Regions from separate parts of the Homo sapiens genome. Here regions 2, 3, 4 and 5 are each linked to region 1. Evidence: promoter capture Hi-C in 16 types of primary human blood cells and fetal thymus (Javierre and others, 2016). All regions are on one chromosome and are shown on one strand. Each heading gives the region's core, a stretch centred on a gene start or on the middle of the fragment in contact. The rest is flanking DNA. Distances are from core to core; before and after follow the strand shown. Region 1 holds the start of STARD4-AS1 (STARD4 antisense RNA 1). Region 2 has its middle 59 kb from the start of WDR36. Region 3 has its middle 22 kb from the start of NREP. Region 4 holds the start of TSLP (thymic stromal lymphopoietin). Region 5 overlaps NREP-AS1 (NREP antisense RNA 1).

Region 1 (5,077 bases), core at 2,306-4,805:
TTTCTTTTTAATTGAGGTACAATTTACAATGAAGTGCACACAATTTAAATGTACAGTTCAATGAATTTGTACAGTCTTAGTTCTTGGTGGCTAAGTTCTGGCTTCAATCATTTTGAGGCTTAGCTGTAAGTCAAGGCTTTGTGCTCTATAATAGTGCTTCTCAAGTTTTTTTTTTGTTTTTTTTTGTTTTTTTTTGAGACAGGGTCTCTCTCTGTCACCCAAGTAGCTGGGACTGCAGGCATACACCAACCACGCCTGGCTAAGTTTTGTATTTTTATTAGAGAGGGGGTTTCACCATGTTGCCCAGACTGGTCTGGGCACTTCAAGTGATCTACCTGCCTTGGCCTCCCAAAATTCTGGGATTACAGGCGTAAGTCACCACGCCTGGCCTCAATATTTAATGTGCATAAAACCATCCAGATGTCGTTTAAAAATGTAGATTCTGATTCAGTAGGTTGGGGCCTGAGATTCTGCAATTCTGTTAAGCGCCCAGGTGATACCAATGCTGCTGGTCTGTGGCCCCGACTTTCAGTATCAAATTTTTATAAGACATTTCTATATCCTTTTAACACATTTTTTTTAGCTTAATTCAGGTTGAGTTTCTTCTATTAGCAAATAAATAGCTCTCTGTTAAGATACACTATACCCACAGTCCTTGGTACAGGTAGCAAACAACTAATAAATATTTGTTGAATTAAATTAAGGCTATGAATTTTCCTGAATTGAAATTTGTTCTGTTCTCTGGCTTTGATATATAGTGTTTTGATTTTTATTATTAATATTAATATTTTAAAATATTTTTATTAATATTCTTCAGCATGTAATGTTTGATTTTTCTCTTAAACCAATGTGTTTGGGGACAGATTTTTAGAAATTTTCAAGTAGTTGGGGATATTTGTGAGCGTGTTTTTGCTTTGCTTACTTCTAGATTTATTGCCCAGGTTAGAAATTGTGGATATATTATTTCTGTGTTTTGGAATTTTTAATGTTTTTCTTCTTGAAAATTCTTTCTTTAGATGTGTTACTATATTCAGTCAGATTATAGTCAGGACTTGGCAGGGCAGTTGTTTTGTCTCTTTAGGTTAAGTTTCCATTTAGCTGATCAAATTCATTATATGCCTCTTTTATATTTGAATTCTAGATGGAGACCTTATTTTCCCATTTTCAAACTATTTGTAGGGGAGATCTATCTGTTGTGTTACATACTACAGTTCTCTCATGTGTATAATGAAAATAGTAATAGTACATGCCTATTTTCAGGCATTGCTGTAAAATGTAAAATGCTTAGCACTGTGTTTGGACCATACTAAACCCTCAAAAATAGCTCCAGATGATGTATTTGTATATGTATTTCTGAATCTGAAGCTTTGCTGTTAGTAGCATTCCACTTTGATAGAGTGGCTTCCAATTACCCAAACTTCATTCTAACCAAGAAAAATGGCAACAGATGAAGAACAAAAGCAAAAGAAACAAAAACCTCCCAGAAACTGGCTGGAAGATAAGAAATCCCATGGGGGCATAAGTGTGATGTAATGACTCCCGCCGTCCAAAAAAAAAAAGCCAAGTTAATTTTGTTTTAAACATGTTTTACACCATCCTGCAAGAGAATATATAGACTGTTGAGCAAAGTATCCAGAACTGAATCCTAATAATGACAGATACAACTTTTTTACTTTTTTGAAATAGATACGTGGATTTATTCCTCTCCACCATTAAACCTGTGTAAACCCTCACAGTAGGAATTAGGCCTTTCATTTATGGTCCCAGTGGTCTTCACAGGTGCCTTGACAAAGAGCTACCAAGCACCATCTGAATTTTATGGAGACTAAGAGCCCAGTTTCAGAGTCCAGCAGACCTCAGCCAAATTCCAGTTTCTCCACTCAGTAATTAAGCAACCTGCCTTAAGATTTATGTCTGGGGCTCCTCGCCTGTAAAACACACCTACCTTAGGGGGCTGTTAAGAGGATTCAATGTAATTGAATTAAGTAGGTACAACTTAATTACAAAGCACTTTTCCCCAACCATTTCAAATTATTTATCTACGTATTCATCCATCCATCCAAAGCACCTCAATAATTGGCCAATAATTCCTAAGTGAAAGGAGCTTTACAACACACGAAGAACTCTTCTATTATGTCACACGAAATTATAAATATAAATATAAAACAAATTATTTTACATATAAACGATGGAGGTAAAAAATAAATCGGCCAATAATAACTAGCAAGTAGTATTTGGTAATTCTTTTGGTGAGGCCGACTTAAAAATTTACGAAATATTATTTATTTTCATTGCAAGTCTATCAGAAATCACTAATGGTGTAGCACTGCATTCTTCCCTGCTTTTGGTTCTCAAACTACGTATCTTAGTAAACGCAATTTGCAGACAAACCAAGCCTCGCTAATCAGTGCATCATGGCTACTCTGGTAAAGGAAGAAATTCACTGTTTGCCAAGCATCCCATCAGATGGGTGACTTCACAGCCACTGGAAGAAATCTTTCTCATGTTCGAGTAGATGGAAACTCCAAAACTGTGCAGTTGCTAAATCCACTTGTCACACCTCCTCCTTTTCTCTGCTTCTAAGGTTGCCCTCTAAACTCTTTATCTGAGGATGGAAACACACACACGCACCCACACACACCCACACCCACACACACACAAACGTATTTGGCTAAAGGTCAATTCACATAGTGGCAGGGACTTTCGTTTATATGCATTTTCCTTCCCAGCTCTCTCAGTTCTGAGTCAGGCTAAGCAGGAGGCAGAGAGCTCGTCCTCCTCTGCATGGGCGCTTTTTCTTATTTGACTTTTAGTCCTGGGAGGAGTAGCGTAGTTGCGAGATACTAGGATATCCACAAGCGGGATGAATTTGGACCTTATCCCTCACTGTGATCCTTCACTTCGCCTTCTGTTTCAATTTCTCCCAGTCGGTTTACTGCTTGACAAAATTCTTTCACAATTAAGTGATCACAGGACAACCCAACCCAACCAATCCAAACCTGCAGGCAACCCCAGACATCCAGGGAACCCTGGCGCGGCTCGGGCCAGCCCACACCCACGCGGAATCATTCCATTTATCGGCCACCAATCAGCCCTCCACACGCTCCCGCGCCAGCCAATCCGAACAAGCGCACGTTGTTCCGGCCACCTCCTCTCAGCCCCCCCTCCCCGGAGCCCCCGGGATCGGGCCAGGGGGCGGGGCTGGGGGCTCGGCCCGCCTTGCCCTGAGGCGCTGGGTGCCTTCCAGTTGGCTGCGACCAGCGGTGACTTACAAGTTGGCTGCTGTCGCCTGCGCATCGGCGGGCCGGGAGGCTGAGCAGTACTGTTGAGAGCGGTGTGAGGTGCTTGGTAGCGCGCCGTAGCTGCTTCCACGTCCTTGCTTCACCTCAGGTAAAGGTAAGGAGAGCCACGGAGCCGCGGCAGGATTGGGGTGGCCCGTGTGGAGGGCGACTGTGGCGCCCGGGGCGTCCTGCCAGGTGCGTCTTCTGGACCTGCTCCAGACCATGGATCTGGGGAGCTCGCGGTGGACGTTGGGGATGGCGGGCCCCGGCGTCCGGGCGGGAGAGGACCTCACAGATGAAAGAGAAACCTGAGCCCCTGGGAGGGGAAGCGGCGAGCTGGAAGGATCCCAGGGCTTGCAACTCGCCCCTGCGCGCCGCTCACCTATTTAAGTACTTGGAATCCATTAGACCTCAGTGTCCTCAGCTGTTAAATGGGAGAGGGGCGGTGGTAATCCCGCTTGATTTGGGACAGTCCTGTTCTTTGGAGGTCACCGCGCTTCCTGGTTCTTAGGAGGTGCACAGACAGCGCAGGGGCAGCCGCGTCCCACCAGGCTTCGCGGAGGTGATGCCAAAGACAAGAGACAAAGTTTTCCCAGGGCTTACTGCCTTCCAAGGTCCCTGCTAAATGTATTAACTCAAATAATTTCTCACCAAATCAGTGTCATTGTTTTCCCGAATTTACACTTGAGAAAGATTACCTTAGATTTTTAGGTTCAGCAGCCAGGACAAAACTTGACAAATATTTGGTGGGCCCAGGTTTTTTATATGAAGTCTTTTCCAGCCTGTGATCAGCTTCCACAGTTTTACAAGAGAGAGCTTTAGGCTCTGAAGTCAGACGCCCTGGGTTGGAATTCTGGCTCCATCACTTATGAACTGTGTGATCTTGGACAAGTGACTCAACCTTCCTGTTGCTATTTTCCCTTTCTGTAAAACAGGGAAAATGTATAGACATTAAGCTACTATTCTCACTTATGGAAGACCTCAAGATATCTAAAGTATGCCCATTTACACCAATCCTAGAGCTTCTGAATAACTAAAATTCCTTTACCATAATGAAACACATTTTCTCAAGGAGGACTATTACTGTTGTGAGGATTAAATAAAATAAATGCAATGTAAAGCAGCCAGAAGGACTGACCATGTAGTAAGTGATCAATAAATGTTATTGTTATTTTTTAAAATCAAGTACAGAGCATTAGGTTTTTTTTTTAATCAAGTATTAGAGCATTAGGGGTTTGAACAGTAAGTTGGCTCACTATTCATATTGTAGAAATATACTTCCATGTTGCATTTCTTTAAATAGTGAGCTCCTGCCAGAGCCAGTCTCAAAAAATGAGAAGCTGCTGTACTTGTCTGAGTTAGAAAACTTAACAGTTCAACATTGATTGGAAATCAAGCATATGCTGAAATTTTTATGTTAGTTAGAAAATATAATTTAATTTACAAAGCTTTGGTTTGTATGACATTGGGGAAAGTCCATGGCATGTTAAACTGAAGCTGTTGACGGAAGTGAAAACCATATTAATCAAGTAATGCAAGGTTAGACCGTTCTGATACCTGCATTTCTTTAACAAGTGAATTCTGACCTAGTCGTACTACAAAAGTCCAAACAGATTTTTATGGCATTCACTTTACATTACAGGTTAAATGTTTTATTATGTTCCATATTTAAAATAGAACCTATGCCATCTCACTGTGACAGATATTTGAGAATAATTGGAGTTGGATTGGTCAAGACTATGGTGCTGATAGATGGCCTCAAGAAAAGTAACTTGAGACAGCTGCCCTCCCTATGA
Region 2 (5,314 bases), core at 1,993-4,492, 360 kb after region 1:
AATTTTAAAGGCCCAAAATAATATTTTTTTAAGTTTGCCCTTGTGCTGAACTACCAGTGTATGTATGTTATACTTGATTTGGTTGTAAACTATATTTCAAAGTAAACCCTAGTGTAATAAGCTTTATAACCAAAAAGGTTTAGGCTGCTGAACCATTGTTTTTAAGAGATATAAAATGCAGCAGGGGACTATTCTTTTTCCTTCTCTAAGCCCAGAGAAGAACTACTAAGTGGTACCTCCAACCTCAAATATTTGTTTTGGCTTTTATCAAGACTTGCAACCTATGATACAAAGATAGTTTATATACGGTGCCAGTGGTGTTTGTTTTTTATTTGGTCAAGAGTAAGGGTAACCCAGGGGGCCACTTATGCAAAAGATATAAACTCTTGCATAATACATTGATAACATGTTTTACCAATCTCAAGGGTAAATGCTAAATATAAGTTAACCAAATAGCAAGTTAAAAGAAAAAAGGTGTGAGGGTCAATTTAATATTTCCAATTGTTAATGTTCTGTTTTCCAATTTTTCATCTTTTGTGATGTTTATGAGCAGACGGCTAAGTTGTATTTCTCCGAATACATTCAGATAAAATAATATTGCCCAAGTAAAATATTAATATCCTAAAGACAAGTTTATATGATACTTAATGTACATAACATGAATTTGAAGCATAAAATTAAAATAATAAAATTGTTTTACCCCCCAAAAAAAGAAATATCCAACATCAAATGATTAATCAATTAATAAAGAAATAACGGAGCCCCCACATTTCACCCACAGAAATGAGTTGTGGAAGCTGTGCAGTCCTGAAAGGTTATCCTCTCCGTGTCTCTTTTTGAGTGGCCACAGAGAGTAATAAACAACAGGACCCTAGCAAATTTGGCTAGCCAAGAAATTTATTTCACTGCTAGAGTAGGGAGTCCTTATTGTTCCTGCCTGGCAATAATTGGTTGATATGTGCTAATGTGGGCCAGTGCCTGCTATGTTTCTTGTTCTTCCTTTTTTCAAACAAAGACTTATAACCTCCCTTTAACCTTATTGCTCGACAGATAATGAGGAGCCACTTCGAGACCTGATGAAAATCAGAAAGCACATTACAAAAGATCCTATCTTTGAAGTGAATGAAATAACTGGATGAGACAATGGTGTGGTATTTCTCAGGGAGAAGCTGGAGAAGGTAGTCTATTTATGAGAGGAAGAGTGTGTATGAATATTACAAAGCCAAAGGGGTAGAATGTGGTAGAAGCCACTAGTTTTTTACCCAATAAACTTTCTCCTTTTATTTCTTATTAATGGAATCCCAATTTTGTTAAAATCAGCAATGTGCTCAAGAGCTGGGGATATGGTGACTGATCAGTTTTCCCTTTTTATGTTAACTGCAAGATGGCTTAGAACTAAGTTTGGAGCTCGTCTTTAGCCAGGAAGTCTCTGTGATGTGCAGTATTGTAACAGCCCCATTCCTAGTTACAGCTTATCTTTCCACTCATGATTTCCATTTTTCTTTTTCACCTATTTTCATAAATACTATTTTGCTATACTTACTTATCCCATCAAACCACCTTAAAACATTTAAAAATCAACCATGTAGAAAGAGCAGCAAGGAAAGCCAACAGAAATAAAGAGAAGGAGGAGAGAAAGAGAAAGAGAAGGAAGGAAGGAAGGAAAGAAAGAAGGAAGGAAGGAAAAGAAAAGAAAAGAAAAAGAAAGGAAGGAAAGAAAGAATGAAAATAATGGGAGAAAGAGAGGAAGAAAATAGAGAAGAGAGGAAGAAATGAAAAAGAAAGAAAGAAAACGAAAGAGAAAGAAGGAAAGAAAGGAGGAAGGAAGGAAGGGAAAGAGAGAAAGAAAAAGGGTGACATAAAAAGGGAAGAAGGAAAGAAAGGGAAAGCAAAGGACGTAAAACCTACAGTTTGAAACTTGCAGGTCTAAACCTACAAAAGGAAGATAAATGTCATTACTACTGATGACTTAAGAATTACACAACATGATTTGTAGAGAAAGGCTAATAAAAGATGTAAGGCATTACAAAGGAATACAAAGATAAAATTAATTGTCTGAAGTATGTGCTTGTAGTTCCAAGCTTTTGAAATATTCTTTCTCTCAGTTTCTGGTGGCATGTAGGAAATACTTTGATGCATGATAGCCTGTAAGCACACCATCAGGCAAGCTATTCCAGGGACAACTCCCCCCACCCACAGTGTCACTTGCCAGGTAACCTGATGAGCAGCTGTGGTTCATGCCATTCTCCTGCTTCAGCCTCCCAAGTAGCTGGGACTACAGGTGCCAGCCACCACGCCCAGCTAATTTTTTGTATTTTTAGTAGAGACAGGGTTTCACCGTGTTAGCCAGGATGGTCTCGATCTCCCGACCTCGTGATCCGCCCGCCTCGGCTTCCCAAAGTGCTGGTATTACAGGCGTGAGCCACCGCGCCCGGCCCTAAGGTATTTCTTTATAGCAATATGAGAACAAACTAATACAACTACTAATACACACAACAACATAGATGAACCTGAAAACATTATGTTGAATGAAAAAAGCTAGACACAAAAAAACTACACACCATATAATGTTATGTACATGAAGTCCAAGAACAGCCAACAGTAATCTGCAGTTAAAAAAATCCACGCAGTGGTTGTTTCTGAGGTGAGTATGTGGAGGGTAGGGGAACTGACCAGAAAGGGGCAAAAGAGAACATACTGGGGTGATGGAAATGCTTTGATAGTTTCATGAATATTTACCATTGTCAAATTTTGTTGACCTGAACACTTAATATTACATTGTGATATTTGTAAATTAAACTTCAAGAAGAAAAGTTAGAAAGGAAAATAAAGGGCTATCACAGATGTGGGTGACAGACTTGCCAACACTTTCCCTAAGTTAAGGATCCTGAAGTTTCAATTACCTTCTTGAAAACTGAGCAGACTGTAGCCAAATAATCCATTTCTGGCTGGCTGCAATTTTTTTCCATTGGAAGTAATGTGAAGAATAGGTCTCAGGAAGTCATTTTCCAAAGAATTCAATATTCCTGAATATAGTAAGGAGTGTTGGGCACTATAGGAGATCAAAGCCAGTAATTAATGAGTCTTGCTCTCCATTAGCCAGGCTCTTTGATACACTTCCAAAACGAACAGGTCTAGAAGGCAATTGGATGCGAATTTTTCACAGTCTTTTCTATGAAGGTAACGTGTCAGCAAAAGGGTTCTCCAGTTAATGAGAAAATTAATAGGACATTTTATTTATCTGTGCAAGTACAGACCTTACCCCAGTGAGAAGAAGAAGAGCCTGCCAGTACTAAATAACCCCAGATGGGATACTCCAGTGTTTATATGATGTTCAAAAATAGTCTTGTTTATTATTAATGATACTGTACCAGTTTCCTTAAGTGGAATGGGCTTTGGAGTCAGAAAGTCTGTCTACCAATAACTAGATAGACATCTTGGCCAAACCACCTTCAAACTACTTCACTTCTCTGAAGTAATTGGAGAATTCAATGAGATAATTTTTTTGGAATGACCAAATGAGATCAAATAAATGTAAATTGTGAGATAAGATTATTTCTTAACTTGTTCTTAGAGATCTGCTTGCCTAACACATATGTGGAAGGACAATTTTGATTTCCTTTTAAGGTAAAGACTTCCTCAGAAACATAATGGAGTTGTCAGTAAATTATTTTACCATTCTATCAGGTGACTTGCTTCTCTAATATCATAACTATGTAGAAAATATCAAAATCTTTGCAAGCATTAGGGAAGAATAAGAAATTCAAACATTTGAATGATTTTTAAGTACTGCTAAATTATTGTTTCCCATTAGAAGTGTATGACTCTTCATCGAATGGTAGTACTGGGATATGGTACTTTTGCTGGCGTAGGAGAAGGGTAGAGTCAAGGTAGGAAGTGGTTGCTTACTGCATGGGTCCTCAGCATTACAGCAAGGATGGAGAAATATATCATCACACTAGTCAGCTGTCAGAGGAGGAAGTTGGGCATGTTAGCAGATTTGAGATACCTTTAAAGTTATAAAGTCCTATTCATTTTCTAATAGCTCCTGTCAAGGCTTTTATACATGTGAGAGGTTGAGGTCTCTGATATAATATGATTATCCTACCTTCCTCCATTCTGATAACAATCAATGAAACCCATGAACATTGCATATGCAGTACCATGGATTAATTAAAAACTGAAGTAATGCTTAAAGCTACTGCATCTATACACAGACAAGAGCTCCCCTGGACTTCATCCATTTGGCTAATTCTGATGCTGGGCTTTTTAAAGCAGACAATATATGTGAATTTTTATCATTGCATAAATTGAGAGCAGTGACTCTCAGAATGGATCAGTGTTGAGGGTATTTGTGTTCCATCTGAGTGTCACCAAAGGGCATCCTCTGCATAGGAAGCTTCCAATAATCAAGTGGACAAGATGACACATTTTGTAGATATCAGTAGGCCTCTTTCCCTAGACACCCTGGTGCTTGCATGAAATGTCCATATACAAAATAGGTATGGTGGCAATGATGAAGGTAATGCATAGCCTTTTTTAAAAAAAGTGCATAAGTTGGTCTGTCTACTGCTGAGTGCATTTCCTATGCACAAGACAGACTAATGCTGAACCCCTGATATTCCAGCCCTTCTTCACTGTTTTGTGGTGGGCAGGTCTATGCAAACCTACTGTAAAGTGTGAGGAAGCTGAGAGACCAAAGAAAGGGGCTGACAAATACAGTTTCTCAGAAAGAAGCATTTGTCTAGGTGCAGTGGGTCATGCCTGCCATCCTAGCACTTTGGAAGGCAGAGCTGAGCGGATCACCCAAGCCCAGGAGTTCAAGACCAACCTGGGAAACATGGCAAAACCCTGTCTCTACAAAAATACAAAAAATTAGCTGGGGATCCTTGTGCATGCCTGTGGTCCTAGCTACTCAGGAGGCTGAGGTGGGAGGGTCACCTGAGCCTGGGAGGTCGCAGCTGCAGAGAGCCATTAACCTGCCACTGCACTCCAGCCTGGGTGACAGAATAAGACCCTGTCTCAAAAAGAAAAAAAAAAAGAAAGAAAGAAAGGAAAGAAAGAAAGAAAGAGAGAGAGAAGGAAGGAAAGGAAGACATTTAATAGGGACTTAGGAACAGAAGACATGTCTGTGTCTTGGGAAGCAGCAAGACAAGCTGGTAGATCCCCATGCATTGCCCACCAGACCTAGGGGTTTATATACCACAGGGAAGGAATGTGTCCTACACATTCAGAAGGCATGTGTAGGACAATTCAAGTATGATAACATCAAGGTTGTTTGACATAGGTGCAGGATTTATGGTAATTACCTGCT
Region 3 (5,362 bases), core at 1,655-4,154, 270 kb before region 1:
AATAGTACTTGAAATCTAAAAAGTGCCATGAAAACAGATATGACCCAAGTCTTTAAGCTTTAAATAGAATTAGTCCAAATTTCATCACAAAGTTGTTATTTTTTCCAAAGATCCTGGAAGTGAGGATGTATTATTTATTTAATGTAGCATAACAAATTATCCTAAACTGTGGAGGCTTAAAGCAATAATTATTTACCATTTCCCACAGTTTGTCTTGAGTCAGGAATTCAGTCAGGATACAGTAGAGATGGCCTGCCTGTGCTGCCTGATGTATGGGCTCTCAGCTGCAAAACTCCAAGACTGGGAACTAGAATCGTCAGAAGGCTTTTGCTTGCCCACATTTTTAGTGGTTAATGCTGGCTGGGTGCCCATCTGGGGCTGCTGGTCAGAATACAAACACGTGGCCTTTCCATGTTGCATGGACTTCCTCACGTAGGGGTGGCACTGTTCGAAGAGCAGGCATCGTGAGAGGAAGCAAGAAAGAGCCAGACAGAAGCCATGTTACCTTTTTGACCGAGCCTCAGAAACCATGCAGCCTCACTTATACCCCATTCTATTGGTCAAGGCTCTTACAAAGATCTACAAGGTTCAAACAGACACTGGGGCCTATCAGAAGTGGAGGGTGGGAGGAGGCAGAGGATCAGGAAAAGTAACCAATGAGTACTAGGCTTAATACCTGGATGGCAAAATAATCTATACCACAAACCCCTATGACACAAGTTGACCTATATAAAAAACCCTTGAACTTAAAGTTTTTTAAGAAAAGATGTTGTTTGTTAAAAATGAAATAATCTATATAACAAACCCCTATGACACAAGTTTACCTACATTACAAACCTGCACATATACCCCTGAACTTAAAATAAACGTTAAAAAAAATGTGGGAAGGAACATAGACTCTATTTCTTGATGGCAATGTGTCAACTTCACATTGGAAAAAGAGCATATGGGATAGGGGTTATATATTGGCGTGGCCTTCTTTGCAATGTAGAAATTGCTGCAAAAAGCAATAGTGAGGATTTAAAAGATTTCCAAATCACCTATGACTATTAGCTCCTGCTTTTTCTGTTAGTTTCATTAGTGAATTGTCTAACTGTGCTTCATATTATTTCCCTATTCTCTACCACTCAAAACAAGATTTGAAATCCAGTCTCCTTCCATGATTTACATACACAATGAAATACACTCCCCACCAAACATATACTAGCAAATAAAAATACTCCTTCAAGTCGGTTACACTGACTTGACTGATGTTTGCAGCAATGAGTGGGATTTACATTGTAGCCAAATAACTTAGAATATTGAAAACCCCTAATTTAAAAAGCTCTATGACTCTTTCCTGTGTTCCAGAGCTTTCCTCTCTCCCTGTTTCCCTCTATTTTCTTATCTGCCTCTTCTCTCACAGTAGCAAAAACTTTAAATACCTTTCATTTTCTTATGCAAAATAATTCAGTTTAGCTCTGCTAAATCTCCATACACCATACTCAGTGCATAGACTCTTTTTAAATCCAAAGTCCCACTAATGTATTCTGCTAAACCAAATGCCATCTAAATCTGAGGGTCACTCTTGCTTCCTACTCCATCTCTTTCTGCAAGAGAAAGGAACAGTGAAGAGATTTATTCCTCCAATTAAATAAATTATGCCCCATTCCCACCCCCGTGTTCTCCACGGGAAGGCAGAAGTTGCTCTGTTCAGTTGTGGTTTAAAATGACAATTTCCCCCTCTGCATTGCACTAGCGTGCATTGGATCACGGCCAGCACTATCCACTTAAGTTTTCCATCTCTGATTTCCAAAGCATTCAGGGAAAGCCTCAGCCTCAGACATTATGAATATGCCTAAGAACAGAACTTCTGAGGCAAAAATAAAAATAATAAAAAATCACAATTTAATCAAGAGAGAGCCCTCAAGTACCCATTTAATAGGTAAGCTATGTTCTTGTCCTCTCTCATACTGTACAATTCAGCATCTGATTGAGTTGCCTTTCCAAAGCCTACTGTTAAGTCCTATAAACTTTCAGAAATGGATTGACCCAGGAGAAGCCTTTATAGAAACATCTAAATATGAAAGATATACTCTCTGAATAGTCTCTAGCCAGATTCTGGAAGAATATTGGTTCTCACGGGCAAGCCATAATACAAATTCCCACTTGTTTCTCCACAGTCATGTCCTCACTACTGCCCTTACCCCCTTTCTTGGAGAGTTTGACCTAAGCCTCTCCTCCTGGTTCTCATAGCTCCAGTGAATGGGAGGGCACATGTGACATCACATACCTGTTTATGGCTAAATGAATCATGGTAACTAATCCAATTAGATTGTTTTCCTGGGGCAATGAGCTAAGACTAACAGACAGTAGCTAAAATAGTCTGAGCAGAGCAGAGCAAACCTCCCGGCAGAGACAGAAGCACAAAGCAGGTGCAGAGCTGTGTGACAGGATGCACACTGGCGTCTAGAGCTGGGAAAAGAAGTGAAGTTCCAGAAAGCCATCTAGTTCCTGCTTCCAACCCCTTAGGAGGTCTGGATGCACCCCTTGCTTTCTGGCTTGCTGAGATAGCCCAACAACACAGCAATAAGCTTATCTTAATGCATCAGCTAGTTTGTAGCCAAGTGAACAGAAATTATTCTACATGGGATGGGAGAAAGAAAAATAGGAATGTATTTTAATTTCTTTTCATATATTTCAAATAAATTTTCAAATAAGTTTATGTACTCTTTTTTGGGTATATATGTTAAGTAGGGAAGACTCATATATCAAGGAGTTTCAATAAAGTATGATTGCAACGTAAAGGTTGCTACAAGATGTTCTTCTATGATATTCGAGGACCATTAAAAAAATAAAACATACTTTAGTACTGAATGAAATGTCATGGTGAACTTCTTATCCTTGGTAACCAAAGAACTTGCTTAAAAAATCATCGTATGCTGTTGAAGTATCTCTGAAGATATTTTACATGTAGTAACCTCTGTATAGTGAATTTTATTTGAGGGGGCTTCATAGGAGAGCTTTGCAAGATGTTAAAGAATATGCTGTTTGTCAACTTTCTGAAGAAATCTCTGCTTTTTAGGGCCTCACAGCCAAACAAACAAACACAAACAAACTTGTAAAGCAATACTGAAAAATATGTGCCCATTCCAAGAAATGGAGTGAAATACATTAGCAAATTAAGAAATGTAATGGAGTGTGGGAAAAGCCTACATCACAATTAAATAAGGACTTTGACTCCATGTAAAGCTTCATGTATAACTCTTTATATAAGGAATTCATACTACTGACAATTGGCCATGAAATAGACAAAAAGGACATGGTTTAGAGGACAAGAAGTAGGCCCCACACTCACTAACTGTTAAGCACACTACTTAAACCCAGTGAGCCTCTGTTTCCTCACTCGTAGTGAGGATGACAACATTATTTACCTCAATGGGATGTTGTGGACATTTAACACTATGATGCATATAAAGCACTTGGCACGTGCATTGATGTTGTCAATAAATCTCAGACCACTTGTAGCAGTAATTTTTGTTATCTGCATTATTACAAATGTATCTGGATATTCTAGGGCAATTCTCTTAGCATATGAAGAGTTTGATGTGCTGGCTGGAGATTGGCAAGCAACTTGCCTCTGCTTGACAAGACCACTCCCACTTCTGATGTGTGCCTGTGTGTATGCATTAAATTGTTCTGTACTAAATCCTATGATTTCTGCCACCAGGTATCAGTTTCTTGGGCTTTCTTTAGCTTGTTCTACGTACAGGCAAAACAGAGAAGTTGTTTTGATATTTTGCTGTTTAACATTTCAAATTACCAGCAAAACAATGAAATTCCTGGACCTCCCATACCCTATTTATCTCAATCAGCAACCTATTTCATGTGAGCCATCACACAGGCAATCAGAGCACAATTGGACTAGATGGGGAAAGTGATGGGACCTACTAGGAGAATACAATTGGGACCTGGCCATACTTTAGTTATACAAAGTATAACTGTGATACATTTCCCTTGTTTTCTCCACACCTATAATTTCTAGAACTTTGCCAGTCTTAAACTATGCACCATGCCCTCAAAAACGTTGCTTTTTCTTCCTTAGATCACTCAAAGTTACATAAACAGCATTTTGGACTTAAAAATTGAGCTCAAAACACTCTTGTTACTGAATACCACAAATATACACATAATGGTTAATGTGCAACTACACTGAAGCATTGTCGTATTTACTCCTAGATGTCTCACCTCTCTAACATTCCCAATGTATCATTTAGGGAGAAATTTGTGTGTTTTTACATGCACGCAGTACACAATTTAAATTGTAACATAGGTCACACACTGAAAAGTGAGCTACCCGGTTTCCTCTCCAGAGACAACTACTGTTAGATTCTCATAATAAATACGTACTTAAAACACACACACACACACACACACTCACACACACACCCACACCACACACTGTAGCAAACATAAACATTCTCAGTGAGAGTTCCTTGCGAGAATTAAATTCTCATACTCTAAGTCATCCATTGTATGTAATAAATTGGCTTTTCTTCTAGGCATCAGGAATGATATTAATTATGTACCATCCATAGAAGAATTGAGGAAATAGTTACAAATAATGGTTCTGTGAGCTGTGGTTCAAATGAGGAACTCTAGTTGAGAAATACTTTCACTTAACAATCTAGCTTGGAGATTATTTATATGGGTACATATATAGCTGCTCTCCTCTTCTTCCTCCTCCTCCTCCTCCACCTCCTTCCTCCTCCTCCTCCACCTCCTTCCTCCTCCTCCTCCTCATCCTTTTTCTTATTTTTCCTTCTTTACTTTTTCATTGAGGTATAACCTAAATTAGAAAGTGTATATAGTGCACCAATCTTAAGTATATCATAAGGTAACACATGACCAATTTTATATATTTATATACCTTTGTAAACACCATTCAGATCATGATATAGAATATTTCCATCACTTTAGAATGGTCTTCCATGCCCCAGGGCAAATCTCTAGTCTAACTTCTATCACTACAGTTAGTTTTGCCTGTTTTGGAGCTTCACATAAATGAAACCACATTTGTATCTTCCTTCTTTCCTTCAACATGTCAGAGTGATTTTCCATGTTGTAGTGTAAACTGATGTTTCCATCAGCTTATTCTTTTTGTTGTTGTCTATTATTCCATTGTATGAATCGACGACTATTTATTCATTCTCTTGTTGATGGACATATGGAATGTTTCCAGTTAAGGGCTATTTTGAAAAAATCTGCAATGAACAGACTTGCGCATGTCTTTTGGTGGATATATGCATTTATTTCTCATACACCTAGGAGCAGCTGGGGTCATGCAATAGGTAGGTGTATGTTTAGCTTTAGTGAACATTGC
Region 4 (5,505 bases), core at 2,795-5,294, 440 kb after region 1:
TTCAAGGCCAAGCACCACCTCCTTCAAAAAGCCTCCACTAATTGCTCAGACCTTGCTTTTGGAAACTCTTCCAGTACTTAAGAGTGTGTGTCATTTAACTTGGCTCTCACTTAACATGCTTTTCTTTATATTGCATCATAGGTATTCCCCATAGCACTGAATACAGTGTCTTAATCATAGGAAACACTGAATATTTGTTGAGTGATTAAGTAAATGAATAAATTGCTGATTTCAAGACCTCCCTGACAAGATCACAAGTTCCTCATGGGCAAGAGCTATCTTATACCTGTTTATAGACATCATTCAATAAACCTAGTCTATTTTTTGGACCCAAAATGCATGCTCCTGCTCCCCATCCTTCCCCCTCCCCTGCCCCATTGTCTAGATGTGTCACAGACATCTGAGGGCTTATTTTAAAGAGGATTGCAGTATATACCTTTATCTGAATTACCTTTGAGTAGTACACTGGGCCTCCTAGACACATGGTATGCAAATTAATAAAGTCACAGGGTTATTAAGCACAAATCTTAAAAAAACCTGCAAAATCATTATTATTAGTCTTAGACTCTCCATTTGGGCTTGGGAGGGACTGAAATAAATTTCTCCAAACTCTCCCTTTCTCACATGCTGTCCAAGAACTTGATCTAGCTTTTTGTTTGTGCTCTTATTTAAATGAATTTTATTGTAGCCATCTGCAGATTTGCCAGGGTCTCCTTCATAAGAAGGCATGAAGCCAAATAGGTTTCCCATATGGCTGTCTGGTATTGAGTTTCTAATTCAAGCTCAACCCAGATCAGCGCTATGGCTTCAATCCTCAACCTCTAGAAAGTGACAGTTTTGGCTGGGCATGGTGGCTCATGCTTGTAATTCCAGCACTTTGGGAGGCCGAGGCAGGCAGATCACAAGGTCAGGAATTCGAGACCAGCCTGGCCAATATGGTGAAACCCCGTCTCTACTAAAAATACAAAAGTTAGCCAGGCGTGGTGGCGGGCACCTGTAGTTCCAGCTACTCGGGAGGCTGAGGCTTGAACCCAGGAGATGGAGGTTGCAGTGAGCTGAGATCGTGCCACTGCATTCCAGCCTGGGTAACAGAGCGAGATTCTGTCTCAAAAAAAAAAAAAAAAAAAAAGTGACAGTCGTGTCCATCTACCTAGACTGTAGACATATAAAGTCCACTAGGCTAATAAGGAGCAATCAAACATATCTGCACTTGTCTCTCTCTGTTCCTTAAACTTGTCACCATGAAGATAAATCCTCTACTTGCTGACTGAAATAAATATTGAGTGCCTGTTGTGTACCAGGCACTGTTCCAACTGCATTTACATGTGTTGACTAATTTAATCCTCAGAAACAACCTGTATAAGACTAACTGATATGATACTTACTTTACCCATGAAGCTACAGTACACGGAGGCTAAGTAATTTAACTAAGTCTTCACAGAAGTTATAGGGCCAGGATTCAAAGTCAGGCAGGTTGTCTCCAGAGTTCCTGTGCCTAACTTTCCACTACACTATCTCCATATTTAATGCTACACGAGCATTCAAATGCAGATAACTACATGTGCAAAAATGTGTAAAGAGACAGCAATAGCGCCCACACAAGCAATTAAGCAAACATAGGATAGAGATTTTATGTATAATGTAATTATACATTTAGCAAATAAGCACACAATAATTAAGTGATAAGAACAAGAGGTGTTGCTCAAACTTTGGACTGGACAAGAATCTCTTAAGGAGCCCCATAATCTGAGATTTTAATGTTGAAGGTCTGGGTTGAGTACCTGGGAATTGGCATTTTTAGCAGCCATACTCTTATGCTCCAGCAATCAAAACATTCTGATATAGAAGTCTCACTCATCATAGCTTGAAACATTGCCCTAAGGTTTAGAACCATAATTCAGCCAAAACAGTATCAGAACCGTAGAAATAGGTGAGTTTGATTCCGGGTATCAACGTGGGTCTAACTGACATCCTACCACTTTTACCCGGCTCGTTTGCTCTTCGAAAGATAAAACCTAAATAAAAATAAGAGAACGACTTCTGCACCAAAGCCCCAGTTTAATTTGAGGTTAGCCCCAAGGTACAGCAAACGTCTGAGGCTTCGGGCTTACCTGAGTTTCCGAATAGCCTGGGCACCAGATAGCTAAGGCAGCCTTAGTTTTCATGGCGAACATTTCTTTGGCGAGCGACGCGCAGCCGGCGGTGGGATTGAAGGTTAGGCTCTGGATTTCAGTAAGGCAATGTGGCTGCTCATAGGCGGCAAAGTTTACGAGAAAAGGAGAAAACACCAGAGAGAGAAAGAGTTGGTGAGAATTGAGTGAAAGGGGAGGGGAGGAAGGTCAGGGAGGAGCGGGGAACACAAGTCGAGAGTCAGAGAGAAGAGGTCAGGGTTGAGTAGAGCAAGGAAGAACCAACCGCGGGGGAGCAGGGGCGTGGCGAGGGTGGCGGAGGGCACTCGTCGCGAAAAGACTGTCACCCACGCTCGCTCCTCCCAAGTCTCCAGGGGGCGGAGGCTGCCAAAATTCCGAGCCCGAGCGCGGAGGCGCCGGACCCCAGCAGGTGGTGCCCCTAACAACGTTCCCTCGTCCCAGTTCCCAATTTGCCTTTCCTCCGGATAGAGACTTCCTCTCCCTAAATTGGAACAGAAGTGTTGTCCCAAGCTAGGCGCAGCCCCGCTCTGACAGCCCAGATGTCCCCTTTCCCCCGGCGGCGGCGTCCCGGAGCCCAGGCACCTCTCGGAGTTCTGCACGTAGCAGGATACTCCCTCTCCAAAATGCCTGGCGTCTCCCTGGAGAAAGCCAGCAGCACTGAACTCTCTACTCACCCGATTGCTACAAGAGACGGTGTTGTTGAACTCGGTACTTTTGGTCTGGAAGAAAGAAAAATAGGACAAAGAGGGTAAAGACTTTTAAGTCCACAAGGAAAATCATCCCTCCACCCTTTGCTCCCAGGCTTTAAAGGTGCCCTGAAAACAGTTTCCACTCAGGTACCTTTTTCCTATGTCATTGACAAGGCAGTGAAATAGCCATTAGATAGTGCTGGTTAGTGCTTGAAACCACACCAAAAGGTTCAGGTCTCAGAGGGCGACCTCCCCCCTCCCTTCCCTCAAGCCATAACTGCACATAGCACTATGCTTGTGAGTAATAATGCCATCCTTTGGATGTCCGCATCTGTACTGTGGCCATTCATGAATGCAAACTCTGTCTAGAAATTAGGTTAATCAGGAAAATGATTACTACTGTATGTTAAAAAAAATTCCAAGTACACCATATTCTGTAATAAATAGCATCCTGAAACATCTAAAACACTGGAGAGACCTGGAGCACAGCATCAATCCTTAGAGTTTATCTCATGAGAATTATCTCTTTTACTCCTCTTTCTTAAGCTCTTACCTCCTGCTTTTTACAGCATAGTCAGAGTAACACTTTAGCAAAGGATAGACATCCTTTGACGCATAACGCGCTGTCTATCAATACCTGCTCCTCATCAGCATCTGCACACTTAGAATGTGCCAATTTCTAGATAATCATTTTAGATTAGATATTTGAATATCACTTGTAAGAATCCTTGACAAAATGTGGGGCCATGATTTTTTCTAAATTATTTTTCTTTCCTACAAAGTTAAATTGTAGAGTGTGTGTATGCCGACTCCTCTGATGAAAATACATTTGTTTTAAAAAAGCTTCTTCACTTACCCCACTCATATATGTAATCAGGTCTTTAGAAATAGTACTGAGATAGGCTGCTTTAATCTTCTCAAAGTCACAGTTAGTGAAGTCGTAAGTTAACACCAGCCCTACAAGTTGTAAGATGAAGATTTTCCTGAAAGAAACTGACAGAACATATAGTAAGGCAAAAGGGAACATACGTGGACACCCAATTCCACCCCAGTTTCACACTAAACTCTTCCCACCACGAGTGTAAGAGATCTGTAAGGCCTGCCTTAGGGGCCAGTGCTCAAGCACCAGGTTTTGCCTCTCATTGCCAGTCCACAGGAAGCCCTTATTCACCCATGCTGTTGCCTTAAGTTGGAGTCTCCCTGATGCTCCAGAGCTTTCTGGCTGCACTATATAACACCTAAACGCCTACGGGCTCTTTTCTCCTAGGCCAATGATTTTCTACCATGTCATTCTCTTCCTTTATAGAATTCTGAATTGATGATGTGAAAGGAAAAAAAAAAAGGAGTAGCTAAATCTATGGAATTTTAACATCAGTAAAGTCATCAGGAATTTCCCTCACCTTCCTCCTTTTTGCTTTGCCCTAAACACTTCATAAGTGTGAATGTCCTTTAAGAAACGGATACCAGTGTCTTTCTCCTACAGGGCATTTCCGTGACCAATCCTTTCTATTTGGGAGAAACACCTTCTGAAACCAGCAGCCACTGTAAGGATTTGGAGTCCTTGCATATGTCCCATGCATTCTGAACATCTTTGAGCATTTCCTGTGGCCACTTTCAACTAGTGCTTTCCCTTCTCCTTGGCTAGTAAGAAACTGTGCTTGCTTATGGGATGCTTTGGAGGGTGGGGTGCAGTCTCAGTCTTCGACAGCACTTCCATGTGAAAGCATTAAATGTGCAACCGTGACCAGAACCTTAGGGGCAGGAACGATAAGAGGTTGAAATAAGTGGGGAAAGATCTGATGTGGCTTGTTCTCAAAAACCCTACTTTTCAAATTTCCCATATCAATTTCAGGAAAAACGCCTACTCTTGGTGGCTAGGGGCACCTTAGGGGCTGAAGAGTCCTCTAGCACTTTCTAGCAGGTGTCAAGAACTTTTAAAACCACAAATTCCAGCGCCCAGCCACCTTCACAGTCCCACTCTTAAGGCCAGCGACACAAGAAGCGGAGCCAGACCGCGCTGCTGGGTGCCCAGCGGCGACCGCACGGAGACGATGCTGTCCTGAGCTCAGCTCTCCCGGAGGCGGCGCACGCTTTAGTGCGCTCTGCCTCGCAGAGGCTTAGCCCCGCGCAGCGTAGACTGGAAAACGTCTGTCACCTGGGGCCTCAGCCCGGGCACCAGTTTTAGAGACAGGAGAAGCATCGAGATGGCGGGCTCAGATTTTTACTAGCAAACTCTTGTTGATCCAGAAAAGAGCGCTTAAAAGCACAGCAAAGTGAGTCAGGGAGAGTGCCCTAGAGGATGTCTGTCTAGCAGTCTTCCCAGTTCCAGCAACACCAATGGAGGGTTGAAGGGAGGGAAAGGCCGACACCGATCAGGTTGCTGAGATGAACCCCCTGCTCCTCCCTGGCTTGGCTCATGCGGCCCTGGGCCCTCTCTACACCCAGGTCCCCTCTCTCTCTCTTTCCCTTCCGCTCCCCCGTCCATCGCACCCCTCACCCCCGCCCCCCGCCCTCGCGTGTCGGAGCCTGCATCGCTCTGGTCCTTGGGAAGTTCCTAGGAGTCATCGCTCGGAGAAAGGAGGTTGGACGCCGTGTGTGAGTCCCAGCAAATGTCACAGGCCATGCGGTGCCTGGGGAAAAGAGCAAGGAATGTCGAGGGATTCGGG
Region 5 (5,298 bases), core at 1,883-4,382, 430 kb before region 1:
CAATTTTCTTGAATGCAAAAAACGTAAGTTGCTGAACAGAGTATATGCAGCAAAATATGACCAGGAGTTTGTCAGTTTTATAAAGAGCTAATCGGAAAAATCCAAAGAAACAATTCACAAAACAGAAAATTAAGTATGGCTTATTTATTTGTTTCCTCTACTATATCCTCCAGTTAGAAAGAGGATGCCCTCTAAGCTCCATGAGGGCAGAGCCTATGCTTTTGCTGTTTACCACTGCAAATCCAGCATTTAACCCATTGAGGTAGGGGTATTTCCTCAGACAGAAATGTAAAAAGAGGCATAGCTTCAGCATGAAAATGAATTCAGATTTGTCTGCACTGGCTTCGCAGTGCAGTGGGACATCGAAGTTGAGATTTCAGTGCCCATCTATAATACAAAGTTCTGGAGCTCAGGGTAGAAGTTCAAGCTAGAGATATAGGTTTAAGAGTAATCATTTGGTTTGTAATTGATGACATGGACTCTTCACCACCCAGGGAAATGTGTATAGAATGAGAAAGGGCTGGGGAAGGAATGCCAAGGAAGCCCAGCATTTAAGAGCAAGACAGAGAAGGCAAGGAAAATCAAGGCAGTATGTGCCTATGAGAGTTCAGGCAAGAAGATGTATAGGGAGTTCAATGTGTTTCACAATAGGCAGCATAACCGGCACCTGATGAATGCTCAAAAATGTTAGCTATTATTAATATGGAAATGACTAATAGCAGGCAGCTTTATTCATATAATATTGAACTTGCCAGAGGACAGAGTGGAGATGCAAAAGAGGAGCCAGTTGTCATAGCTGCCTAGAAAGCTGAAAATGGAAAAAAGGAAAGAGGACTACAGGAGACAGCAGTGATGAGATGGGAGCCACATATGTATAGGAGATCAAAGGGGAGAAAGGGGAGAGGATAATACTTTTAACCCCATTTATTGAGTGCTGCCTAGTGCCAGATGCTGTTCTTAGTGCTTTAACTGATTCAGTTTCAAAACAGCCTTACAATATAATTACTAGACTTAGTCACATTTTACAGTCAAGGAAACTGAGAAATGGACAGTTCCAGTAACTTGCCTAGTGTTGACTACTACTATGAGATGAATACAGGATTTGACCTCAGGCATTCTGACTTTTGAGTCCATGTTCTTAATCTCTTTTATGTACAGCCTCTTAATTATATGGGTGATGACAGTAAAATATTTTGACCAAATCTGGAGTATAAAACTCTATTTTCAAGGGTTTTTTAGTATCATTATCTGATGCTGTTTTTTTTTAAAACTAGTGCTTTAGAAGTCTTTAAAGAAGAATATCAACTTCTATATCATTTCAGATTTCTTTGCAATTATTTTGTACCCTGTCCCTGATTTTCAGTCTTGAGTCACACTTGCTGCTATTTGATAGCACAAACTGCTTTGCAATGAAAAAAAGACACCTGCAATGTTGCAGATGTAGTTAGTATGATGCAGGCAAGACACCAGGAAGAGCAAAAGCGCCTATTTTAGGGACTGTTTTTAAGCCGCACCAGGGAACCAAAGCAATGACTGCATCACATGTGACCATGACTTTCACTTTTCAGATGGAAAGGCGACTCTCATGAGATTTTTTTAAGTGAGAAAATTCAGAATATGAATCATTTTTATTTTAGTGTTATTTGGTGTCATTCGAAATAAAAATATTAAAAAATATAAACATTTTATGGTAAGCATCAGGATTGAAATTTTATTAACAAATAGCAATTAAATCCTGGCTAACAATGTTTGCTAAGATGGTTACCATAAGAAAATAACTTTTGTGAAGCTAAGTTAATATAACTGTTTTTATGGTAATAAAATGATGTCTCATGGAATCGATCTTTGAGACAAGTACTCTTACCACAAAAGCAAAACAAAACAAAAATTAGTTCTGCTATCCTACAAAATGTTGTACTGAATTTACCAAAAATCTAATTCAGAGTCCACACACGGTGTTAAAAATGCAGGCTAAGAAGTAGTGAGTATATTATTGTGGTGATATAACACATAGACATGTCTAGGAAGGAAGACATAGTTGTAAATAAGCTAGAATCTATTTAGAGGATAACAGAATGTAGATTTACATTCCTTTGGTGGGATTATGTTAGGTCAGCCTCTCAATTGGTTTTAAAACAGATATGGCATGCTCTGGTCCAGAAACATTGAAGCTTTTATTATCAATCCCATTCCTAGATGTCCTGTCTGAAATGCTAATATTAATAATAGGCTTGCATTCATCAAATGTAAAAGTGTTAGGAGCAGAACTATGTCATCCCCAAAATTTATATGTTAAAATCCTAACCCCCTAATACTTCAGAATGTGACTCTATTTGGAGACAGGCTGTTTACAGAGCCTGTTACAGTGCAGTTTACTGCACACTGTTTACAGTGCGCAGAGGAGGACACAAACAGGTACAGAGGAAAGACCATGTGAAGATGTGGAGAAGACAGCCATCTACAAGCCAATGAGAGAGGCCTCAGAAGAAATCAATTCTGCTGACACCTTGATCTTGGAATTGTAGCCTCCAGAACTATAAGAAATAAATTTCTGTTGTGTAAGCCACTCAGTCTGTGGTACTTTGTAATGGCAGCTTGAGCAAACTAAAACAAAAAGGTGTGATGTTGGGCTTTCACCCAGGTTTTATACTCTAGATTATAACAAGATAATTAAATAACCAGAAAAATGACTGATTAATAACTTCCCATATGATCTTCATCAGTTTCTTCCTTTGCAATTGAATGCCTATTTACAATTCCTTTGTGAAAGAAAAGTTTGATGTCCATTTATTTCTTGGTAACCCAGAGATTTCTGGGATCCCATAGTTATTCTGTGGTTTCTCCCAGCAACAACCTTAAAGCAAGAATCAGGGTTTGCTCCCTACCCCAAAAAAGAAATGTGTTTTATAAAACATAAATGTACTTTGTGGATTTTACTGAAGACTTATTGAAGACATTATATGACATATCCATACCCAGAAATCTCGACCTTGCCCTATGTGCCTCTCCCTTTGGCTGATTTTTAATCTGTATCCTTTCACTGTACTATAACCAAAAGTATAATGGTTTTATTGTGTCCTCTGAGTCCTTCTAGTGAATTTTGGGGCATGAGTGTGGTCTCAGGGACCCTCAAACTTGCAGTGAGTACCAGAAGTGAGAGTGGCCTTGGGCAACTCCAAACTTGCATTAGGTTTCAGAAGTGAGGGTGGACCTGGGTACTCCTAATGTTTGCATGAGGTCACCTGCCTCTCTTCTCTGTCTTCAGAGTCGGGGCCCATCCCTATAATTGTGACTCCCCTCCACTAGGACAGAGTAGTTGGGTGATGAGTGGTGTGTGGTAGAGAAAGGCATGCCTACTTTAGCTCTTCTCTCCAACGTTTTTGCCAGTTGGAAGGGATGGGAGATATGTGTCTACTGAATTCTCTTTCTGTGGACCTGGAACATGGCAGACAGACAGACACTTTGATCTCCTTGCCAGTACGACTTCATGTCTGCTGTAGTTTGGAGTAGCAGAGAGAAGGCAACAACTTCCTGGTTGTCTTCTGAACTGTACTTTGATAATCAGTAGGTAGAAAAGAGAGGGAACAGTATTTCAAGAACTGTTTTTGTTTTATCTTTTATCCCTATCCTTAAACTATATTTTGTTTTTGGTATTTCGTAGTCTTTTTTCAGGTAAGGTATATTAGGCATCTTTATTTATCACAAAAGGCTATCACAGTGTTTCCCTTTATGTAAGGAGTAAATTGAAGGAATAGTTTTGTTTTGACAACTTACTGTGCTATTCTTGTAGAGTGGCTAGCAGTGGTAATTTTTCTTTGAATGCAGTAATTCAGATTGGGATGTACACTTGATTCTTCTTCTTCACTGTAAATCTGTAAAGTTTCCATGAACGCCAAGTTAATTGAACATTGAATGATTACTCCCACAGGAAATAAAGAGTCAGATTCCTATAAGCCTGTGATAACAGTATTTTTGTCAGCTGATCAAAACATAACCTTGTCTTATATGTGTTTCTTTTTAAAGATAACGTATTTAATATGTATCATTGATTCATTAACTTTGGACTCATGGCCAACAGCATGGATGAAGCTTATCCATTTTCTCCATAAGGCACATAGCAGCCCTCTTGTGCTCAGGAACACTAGATAGAGTTTCTGTATTACACTTGGGGACCATTTTAAACAGCAAAATCACCAACAAAAAGCACAAAAATTCAAATAACGTGGTACTAAATAGATCATGAAAAGGACACTTGTTTACGGTAAGAGCTGAAACAAAGAGGTAGAATATTGCCTTGTTTGACCTCAGCTGTGCACTTGCACGTGCGGCAACTCGAATTTTTTTTTGCCACACTGTGCTAATGACCACTAATGATCACAGACATGCTGCAAATACTGATTTCAGGGTTACAAATAAATTTAAGTGAGTAGGCAACTTCCCAAATATGGAATCCACAAATAATGAGGATTTCCCAGACTGTAATGTCTGGGAAAAAATGCTGATTGCTCTAAAGTATCTTTAAAAGGGAAATTGATGCTTTGGTTATGATGTCCTGGCTCTGCCAGAAATGATAGCTCCTTGTATTTTTCCTACTCCATCATTCCAGAGGAGACAGGATCAGAATCTCTGCCCCTTGAGCCTACTTTTTGCATCAGATGTTTGCTGTGAGAAGTAATGAGTCTTGTAAAGGAATGTGGTTCATTTGCTAGGAGGTGTTCCATGCTGGAAGATGTGAGGCTCCATGGACTGTTTGTCAGGAATAAAAGTAGTCGTAGGGAGAGGGTAGAAAAAGGAAGGAAGACCAAGAGCAAGGGGGACGGTAATTTCTAGGCATGATTAACAGCAACAAAAAATCTATCTGTGAGTCTATCCTAGATAGATTATGAGTAAGATACTAAGTAAGATCAGAGTCTCTCCAGTAATCGATGGACTGATCCAGGTTGCTTTTCCAGCTACTACAAGCCATAATGGCAGGGTTACATTCTTTTCATCCAGTAAGAAAACTACTTTATGTTTGTTACAAAGTAGTCATTATCTATCTTAATTGCTTGTCAAAAGGTTTTGAGAGTGTTGTTAGAGTTCATGGGTGATCTCTGAGCTGCTGACTGCAGTATACTAAGCTGTTGATCAAGAACAATAATGGTAGCTAGTATTCACCAGCTTTTTATGCCCTAAGTTCTGTTCCCAGTACTTTACACGTACGAAGGCATTTAAAGTTTACAATAGGCCTTTGAGGTTGGAAATGATATTATCCCCAACATGATATTATCCCCGGCATAGGTTCGGTAACTTGTTCTA

The links. The method cuts DNA at HindIII sites, captures the fragments that hold promoters and counts their contacts. A CHiCAGO score of 5 or more calls a contact.
Region 2: a contact is called between a fragment that was not itself captured here and the fragment with the promoter of STARD4-AS1 in region 1, in 1 of 17 cell types (non-activated CD4 T cells). The highest score is 5.5, in non-activated CD4 T cells.
Region 3: a contact is called between a fragment that was not itself captured here and the fragment with the promoter of STARD4-AS1 in region 1, in 3 of 17 cell types (megakaryocytes, M1 macrophages and monocytes). The highest score is 6.4, in megakaryocytes.
Region 4: the fragment with the promoter of TSLP here is called in contact with the fragment with the promoter of STARD4-AS1 in region 1 in 4 of 17 cell types (non-activated CD4 T cells, activated CD4 T cells, naive CD4 T cells and 1 more); the score reaches 8.4 in non-activated CD4 T cells.
Region 5: a contact is called between a fragment that was not itself captured here and the fragment with the promoter of STARD4-AS1 in region 1, in 1 of 17 cell types (monocytes). The highest score is 5.1, in monocytes.

Annotation. Positions count from the first base shown.
Region 1 is chr5:111,510,704-111,515,780 of GRCh38, reverse strand. STARD4-AS1 (STARD4 antisense RNA 1) reads right to left here and starts at 3,555. Exons shown (of 7, transcript NR_040093.1): 1 at 3,273-3,555. It overlaps STARD4 (StAR related lipid transfer domain containing 4), which reads left to right and starts at 3,246. Exons shown (of 6, transcript NM_139164.3): 1 at 3,246-3,396. It overlaps LOC105369177 (a long non-coding RNA gene), which reads right to left and starts at 196. Exons shown (of 4, transcript XR_948671.3): 1 at 1-196. RefSeq lists enhancers at 2,782-2,921, 3,402-3,611 and a silencer at 3,002-3,371. The HindIII fragment of the contact is 3,364 bases long and covers 1,368-4,731 here.
Region 2 is chr5:111,148,661-111,153,974 of GRCh38, reverse strand. No RefSeq gene overlaps it. Among named protein-coding and RNA genes, the nearest start is that of WDR36, 59 kb to the right of the region's middle. The HindIII fragment of the contact is 2,318 bases long and covers 2,084-4,401 here.
Region 3 is chr5:111,776,410-111,781,771 of GRCh38, reverse strand. It overlaps a transcript of NREP not described here. Among named protein-coding and RNA genes, the nearest start is that of NREP, 22 kb to the right of the region's middle. The HindIII fragment of the contact is 658 bases long and covers 2,576-3,233 here.
Region 4 is chr5:111,070,252-111,075,756 of GRCh38, reverse strand. TSLP (thymic stromal lymphopoietin) reads right to left here and starts at 4,044. Exons shown (of 4, transcript NM_033035.5): 1 at 3,696-4,044; 2 at 2,825-2,869; 3 at 2,112-2,246. The coding sequence starts at 3,866. The HindIII fragment of the contact is 3,260 bases long and covers 3,685-5,505 here.
Region 5 is chr5:111,938,611-111,943,908 of GRCh38, reverse strand. NREP-AS1 (NREP antisense RNA 1) reads right to left here. Exons shown (of 4, transcript NR_046678.1): 2 at 3,775-3,872. It also overlaps a transcript of NREP not described here. Among named protein-coding and RNA genes, the nearest start is that of NREP-AS1, 29 kb to the right of the region's middle. The HindIII fragment of the contact is 1,918 bases long and covers 2,174-4,091 here.